Regions from separate parts of the Homo sapiens genome. Here region 1 is linked to region 2. Evidence: promoter capture Hi-C in human tissues and cell types (Jung and others, 2019). All regions are on one chromosome and are shown on one strand. Each heading gives the region's core, a stretch centred on a gene start or on the middle of the fragment in contact. The rest is flanking DNA. Distances are from core to core; before and after follow the strand shown.

Region 1 (4,170 bases), core at 676-3,175, 49 kb after region 2:
AATCAACCTTTTTAGCTCCTATATATGAATAAGAACATGCAACATTTCTGTGCTTGGCTTATTACACTTAATATAATGACTTTCAGTTCTACTCACGTTGTTGCAAGTGACAGGATTTCATTCTTTTTTATGCCTGAATAATATTCCATTGAGTATATGTTATCACATTTCCTTTATCCATTCACCTGTTGATGGGTACTTAGGTTGATTCCATGTCTTAGCTATTGCATATAGTGCTGCAACAAACATGGGAGTGCAGATATCTCTTGGATATACTGAGTTTTCTTCTTTTGGATATATACCCAGCAGTGGGAATGCTGGATCATATGGTGGTAACTTGATGTTTAATATTTTAAGGAACTGCCAAAATGTTTTCCAAAACAGCTAACCCATTTTACATTCCTACAAACAACACATGAAGATTTCAATTTCTGTACATCCTCACCAACACTTATTTTTTGTATTTTTTTTATAGCTATTCTAGTGGTTGTGAAGTGGTATCTCCTTTTGGTTTTTATTTGCAGTTCCTTGACGACTAAAGATATTAGGTATCTTTTCATGTGTTCATTGGCCATTTGTATATCTTCTTTAAAGAAATGTCTATTGAAACTCTTGGCCTGCTTTTTGTTTTTAAAGACGATTTTAGGGCAGTTTTAGATTTGTAGCAAAGTTGAGCAGAAAGTGCAGACATTTCCCATATACCCCCTACCCCCCAGCATGCACAGCACCTCCACTATTAACTCCTTCACCAGAATAGTACTTTTATTATAATTGATGAACCTACATTGACACATCATTATTACCCAAAGTTCATAATTTACATTAGGTTCACTCTTGGTGTACATTCTATAAGTTTTGTCAAATACATAATAACATGTGTCTACCATTATAGTATCATACAGAATAGTTCCACTGCTCTAAAAATTCCCTGTGCTTTACCTATTCATCTCACCATCCCCCTGGCAACCACTGATCCTTTTACTGTCTCCATAGTTTTGCTTTTTCCAGAATATCATCTGATTGGAATCACACAGTATGGAGCCTTTTCAGATTGGTGTCTTTCACTTAATAATATGCACTTAAGATTCCTCCATGTGTTTTCATGGCCTGATAGCCAATTTCTTTTGAGTGCTGAACAATACTCCACTGTCCAGATGTACCAGAGCTTATCCATTCACCTACCGAAGGAAATCTTGGTTGCTTCCAAGTTTTGGCAATTATGAATAAAACTGCTATAAACAATAATGTGCAGGGTTTTTTTGTGTGTGGACATAGGTTTTTGACCCACTTGGGTAAATACCAAGGAGCACAATTGCTGGATTGTACCATAAGAGCATGTTTAGTTTTATAAGAAACTGCCAGACTGTCCTCCAAAGTGGGTGTACCATTTTGCATTCCCACCAGCACTAAATGAGAGTTCCTGTTGCTTCACATCATCACCAGCATTTGGTGTTGTCAGTGTTTTGGATTTTGGTTATTCTAATAGGTGTGTAGTGGTATCTCATTGTTTCCATCTGCAATTCCCTCATGACATATGATATTGAGCATCTTTTCATATGCACATTCACCATACATATATATTTTCTGGTGAGGTGTTCATTTAGATTTGCCTTTAAAAATATCAAGTTATGCCAGGCGCGGTGGCTAACACCTGTAATCCCAGCACTTTGGGAGGCCGAGGCGGGCAGATCAGGAGATCGAGATCATCCTGGCTAACACAGTGAAACCCCGTCTCTACTAAAAATACAAAAAATTAGCCGGGTGTGGTGGCGGCTACCTGTAGTCCCAGCTACTAGGGAGGCTGAGGTAGGAGAATGGCGTGAACCCAGGAGGCGGAGCTTGCAGTGAGCCAAGATGGCGCCACTGCACTCCAGCCTGGGCTACAGAGCGAGACTCCGTCTCAAAAAAAAAAAATCAAGTTATTTATTTTCTTTTTGTTGAATTTTAAGAGTTCTTTGTATATATTATTAACAATTCTTTATCAGATATGTCATTTGCAAGTATTTTCTCCCAATCTTCTCATTCACTTGATAGTGTCTTTCACAGAGCAGAGATTCTTAATTTTAATTAAGTCCAGTTTACAAATTATATCTTTTATGGATTGTGCCTTTGTTGTTATACATAAACAATTACCACCCAAGGTCATTGAAATTTGCTTTTATATTATCTTCTAGGAATTTTAGAGTTTTGCATTTTACATTTAGGTCTATGATTAGTTTTGTGTGAATTTTTGTGAAGGGTGTAAGCTCTGTGTTGTTACTGTTATTTTAGGATTAGGAATGAAAGACAGTTATTATAATCCTGGGACCTCATTTCTCTGATGGCTCTAAGAACAGTGGTTTATTTTTCAGTTTGTTTAGCTTTTTATTTGTTGTTAGGACAGAGTGATAACTTCCAAGCTCTTTACATGCCAGACTGGAAAACCTTTGCCCATTTGTCAATGTTATTTGTCTTTTTATTGTTGAATTATTAAAGTTTTAAATATATATTCTGGATACTCAACCCTTATCAGATAAATGATTTGAAAATATTTTCTCTCATTCTGTGTGTTATCTTTTCACTATCTTACTGGTGCCCCTTGAAGCACAAGTTTTTCATTGTTTTATTGTGGTGAAATATACAGAACATAAAATTTATAATTTTAACCATTTTAAGTGTACATTTCAGTGGCACTAAGTACATTTATGTTCTTGTGCAACTATCACCACCATCCATCTCCAGTACTTTTTCATCTTCCCAAACTGAAACTCTGTGTCTATTAAACATTTTCTCTTCTTCTCAGTCCTTGGCAACCACCATTCTACTTTCTGTCCCTAAGGATTTGATGACTCTAGGTACATCAAGTAAATGGAATCACACAGTATTTACTTGTCTTTTTGTAACTGGCTTATTTCACTTAGCATAATGTCTTCCAGGTTCACCTATGTTGTAGCATGTGTCAGAATTTCCTTCCTTTTTAAGGGTGAATAATATTTCATTGTATATACACACATACATACATACATGCATATACATATACATTTTGTTTATCCAATCATCCATCAATGGACATTTGGGTTGTTCCCACCTTTTGGCTATTGTGAATGATGCTTCTCTGAACTTTAGGGGACAAATATCTGTTTGAGTCCCTGATTTCAATTATTTTGGGTATATACCCAGAAATATGTTTTTAATTTTTATGAACTCCAATTTATCTAGTGTTTTTTTGTTGCTTGTGCTTTTAAAATTATTTCTAAAAACTATTGCCTATTCTATTTACTTCTATGCTTTCTTCTAAGACTTCTATATTTTTAATTCTTATATGTAGGTATGTACTTCATTTTGAGCTAATTTCTATATATGGTGTCATGTAGGAATTCAGCTTCATTCTTTTGTATGTGAATATCTAGTTGACTCATCACCATTTGCTGAAAAGACTATTTTATCTATATTGAATTATCTTGGCAACCTTGCTATTAATCAATTCACAGGAAATATAAAGGGGTTTTTAAATGGACTCTCAATTTTGTTTCATTAATCTGTACGTTCATTCTTATGCAAGTACCACACGGTTTTTATTACTGTACCTTTGTAGTAGATGTGAAATTAGGAAGTGTGAATCTCCCAACTTTGTTGTTCATTTTTCTTCTTTCTTCTTTTTTTTTAAAAAGACATTTATTCAGCATCATAATCAGACTATTACATTTAGCAATCAACAGCATGGGTGCAAAAAAAAAAAACAACCTACATTAAAACCCTTCGTTGGAATGCTTTACACTTTCCACAGAACAGAAGCTAAAATAATCCGTTATACAATTAGTCACAAATACAGTCCTCGAGTTTTTTTCCCATACATATGAGTATTTGTCTAAAACATGTCTGCTTTGTAGCAGCTAGGCCCTGCCACCACTGTGCTTTGCTAAATTCACAAATCTGTTGTAACCTGTAGCTTCCCTGCCACTTCTCTGGCTCTCCGCTCCTGCTAAGGTTTGTTTCCTAATTAAAATCTTCTGCCACTGCCACAGCTACTGCTACTACTGGAACCATCATAGCCACCTTGGTTTTGTGGTTTGGCAAAGAATTGGCCTCCACCACCATAGGGGCCAGAGCTTCTGACTCCAAAGTTTCATGGGTCCATAATTTGAAGACTGATTGTTGTAACTGCCAAAATCATTGTAGCTTCCACCACCT
Region 2 (3,656 bases), core at 766-3,265:
GGCTACAGAGCGAGACTGTCTCAAAAAGAAAAAAAAAATTCCAGGCCCATCTTGAACACCACCTCTTCCAGAAGCCCACTGTGATAGTGCAGTCAGATCCTGCCTTCCCTCCTCTGTCTCCTCCCAGGGAGCCTCAAATCCTAGACTCTTTTGGTGAAACACAGGGAGCATGAAGCTTCTCGTTATATGGAGACCTGCCTTGAATTCTAGCTTGTCCTTGACTTGGCCCATGATCTTAGGCTAATAAATGCCTTGACCTCGTTGAGCCTCAGTTTTCGTGCAAAAAAGCAGGTAATAATAAACCTTAGGGCAATAAGGGACGTGCTCTGTTCGGGCAATGCCTTCCCTGCTGAGTGGCGTGGCCCTGTGATTTTTGAATTTGGCTGATTCCTCTCATATGGCAGCGCAAGCCCCTCAGGACGTCTATATCCTTCCACCCAGCTCCGCCAGCCCTCAGGTGCTTAATGACTGTATTTACAGGCATCTAGCGCAGCCACGCAGCCCCGGAGCTGCATCACCTCTGGCTATGCAGTCTTTCACTTATCAGGAGGGTTAATGAGATGCAGGGTAGAAAGGTCTTGCCACTCGCCCGCCCGCTCGTGGAAGCCGAGTAGCTTGGTAACGACACCACGACTTCACGTTTAGTGCATTAGACGCGTAGACCCTTAGGGGAGGCAGAGCTTCCCGGTATCGCCGAGCGGGCCCTGAGGGCTGAGGCTGGGCACCCCTGCGCACCCCTGCTGAGTGCCCGGCCACCAGAAAGACAGATCCCCCACCTTTCCTTCTCCCTGACCCGGCGCGCTTCCTGGGGAACAAACTCTCCCTTACCCTCAGTGGGGCTGGGGCCTCAGTCTGCGACATACAGTGGGACTCCCATGTCTGCATGCCTGAGGTGGGCGGAAGGGGGCGGTGGGTGCTGGGAAGACATCCGTCCGCTTGCAGCTCCGCTGAGTCTCCAGCACCTGAAAAGCCGCGGCCGAGGCCTGAGGGACCAGCCCAGCCGAGATATCGGGGGCGGGGCAGCCCAATCCCAAACTGGCGGCTGGACCCGACTCCAACTCGTTCCTCCTAAGTCCGGGACAGATTGTCGGGAGGAGCTTGAACTGAGCTTCGGCTCCCGACTGGGCCTGGGCCCGGCCCCCACTGGTGCCACCTCCCTCCCTTCCTGGCCCGGCTCCTGGCCCACACTCGGCCCTGGCCCGGCCCTGGCCCGGCCCAGACCCGGCCCGGCCCTGGCCCGGCCCAGACCCGGCCCTCTGAGGCTCCTCCGGGCTCCAGGTTGGCGCAAACAAAGCCCTGATTGACTGCCCGGAGGGGCGGGCCTCGCTGCATGGCCGCCTCCTCCCCTCCCAGGCCGCCAGGGATTTGCCGGGAAGAGCGGGGGCAGGGGGAGACTCCCGGGGGTGCGCAGGACCGCGGGGGGCCGAGTCCTCGGGCTCGAGAAGATTGTGTCCACCCGCTGTCCGAGGCCCAGGCTGTCCCCTCAGGTCGTCCTCCTCAAGTCCAAGGAGGGACATGGGAGCTCCTGAGGGCAGGGTGGGGTTCCTCGCGGGCCAGCTGTCGTCCTAGGGTCCCCGGTGCCACCTCAGTTGCGGGCTGCTTGTGAGGAAGGAGGGTATGGGAGCAAAAAATAGGAGGGGTCTTCCCGAGGCTCGGGGTTGATCAGTGTCGGTTCTAGAGCCTGCGGGGAAAAGAGGGCAGGAGAACAGGATAGTTTGTGCTTCCTTTTTTCCATTTTAACTTTTCCTCTAACGGGCATCCGGGCAAGAACAGGGTTCAGTAGTTTGGGAAGGGAGCTGGGGGAGGCAGTGGCGGCTGGAGTAGGTAGGCGAGTAAAAGGAGGAGGAAGGGCTGGGGAGAAGAGCGAGGCTGTAGCGGCTGCCTGTTGAGGGAGGAAGAGGTGGGGGGTGTGGAGGAGGGGGAGGAGAGAGAGATGACATGGGGAGAGGAGGAGGGGGGTTGGACGTGGGAGGAGGAGGAGAGGGCTCGAGGGACCGTCTGTCGCGGGACGGGCTGGCCAGCTGGGGCGCGGAGCCTGGAGGAGGAGGCAGCGGCAGCGGCAGCAGCAGCCCTCCGAGCAGCAGCAGCTGCAGCAGCAGAAACAAGTACCAGCCACAAAGCGGCTCCTCTGGCCCAAGCAGCCACAGTCCCCCCGCCGCGATGGCGCTGCAAAGCCAGGCGAGCGAGGAAGCAAAGGGGCCCTGGCAGGAGGCAGACCAGGAACAGCAGGAGCCGGTGGGTAGCCCAGAGCCGGAGTCTGAGCCGGAGCCTGAGCCCGAGCCCGAGCCCGTGCCAGTGCCCCCGCCCGAGCCCCAGCCGGAGCCCCAGCCCCTACCGGACCCCGCACCCCTGCCGGAGCTGGAGTTCGAGTCCGAGCGGGTGCACGAACCCGAGCCCACGCCTACGGTAGAGACCCGCGGCACCGCGCGCGGCTTCCAGCCTCCCGAAGGTGGCTTCGGCTGGGTGGTGGTGTTCGCTGCCACCTGGTGCAACGGCTCCATCTTCGGCATCCATAACTCTGTCGGGATCCTCTACTCCATGCTGCTAGAGGAGGAAAAGGAAAAAAATCGCCAAGTGGAGTTCCAAGCAGGTGAGTGGCCCCGCACGCCCCACTTGGCATTTTGGGCAAGGTTGGCCGCTCCCGCTGCCACCGACCCCATACCTCCCGGTCCGAGGCGCCCCTCCAACGCGCCTCTCCGACTCCTCCCCTTACCCCTTACCCCTTGCCCCTTGCCCCTTTCCATGGCTCTCCTAGGGTGCGGGTTGCGGGGCTTTGGGCAGCTTGGACTGGGGAGACTAGGTGCAAGGCGTCCCGGGGGTACGAACTGGGACATTCATTGATCCTTGGCAAGCAATGGACTTTTTTTTGCCCTGGGACAAATCTAAATGCACCTTTCAGGTTTAAGGTACCTTTGCCCCTGTGTGCTGGGGGAAAATATTTGCAGGACTTTTTTTTTTTTTGGAGGTGGGGAGAAGTCATGAGGAGAGGAGAGAATTGAGAGGCGGGGCGGGCTCTGAGAGAAGCACTGTACCGCTGATCTCCGCAGCAGCCCCCCGGTTCCTTTGGGGAAACGGAGGTGTTTTCTGTTAAAAACACTTTAGGAATCCTGATGACTATGAGCGAAGAGTCAAACACATGGCAGGCGTGCGTGTCTGCAAGAGAGAAAGGGAGGGAGGGAGTTCGAGTCGGGGTGTGAGTGCGTCTCTGGCCGCCGCCGTTACGGCCCAGCTGGGCCCGGCAGTCCTCTGCCGCCCCGCGGGAGTGAATGGATCTCCGTGCCCTATGAGCCGAGCCCCAGAGCGGGCGGGGAGGCGGTCTCCGCAGTCTCCTGCCAGAGAGGCGTGAGGCCGCAGGCAGGCTGGGCCCTGCTGCTCACTCCGCACCGCCCCCAACTTCAGCCCTGCCTTCCCCGGCAACCCGCGCCTCTCTGCTACCGGTGGGGTGCCTCGTTCGGCCTACAGCCTGAGTGCCAGACCCGCCATTCCAGCTTTCCCCTGGAGCTGACTTGATCTCAGACAGAGTTGGGGGGCATAGCCCTCGCTTTCCAGGCCAGTGGACGCAAGACCCCAGGCGTGTGCGCTCTTCTCATTGAGGCCGCCTGTGAGCTGGGAGAAGTCAGAGGAACCATCTCGCTTTCCCAGCAAAGCCGCTGGCG

The links. Contacts are between HindIII fragments. The study calls those that stand out against the background at their distance.
Region 1: a contact is called between a fragment that was not itself captured here and the fragment with the promoter of SLC16A2 in region 2, in 1 of the 25 tissues and cell types used here (ovary).

What each region holds. Positions count from the first base shown.
Region 1 is chrX:74,469,036-74,473,205 of GRCh38, forward strand. All of the region lies in intron 1 of SLC16A2 (solute carrier family 16 member 2), which reads left to right. It also overlaps the pseudogene HNRNPA1P25. Among named protein-coding and RNA genes, the nearest start is that of SLC16A2, 50 kb to the left of the region's middle. The HindIII fragment of the contact is 8,235 bases long and covers 1-4,170 here.
Region 2 is chrX:74,419,478-74,423,133 of GRCh38, forward strand. SLC16A2 (solute carrier family 16 member 2) reads left to right here and starts at 2,016. Exons shown (of 6, transcript NM_006517.5): 1 at 2,016-2,590. The coding sequence starts at 2,161. It overlaps LOC105373252 (a long non-coding RNA gene), which reads right to left and starts at 1,171. Exons shown (of 2, transcript XR_007068267.1): 1 at 829-1,171. The HindIII fragment of the contact is 17,504 bases long and covers 1-3,656 here.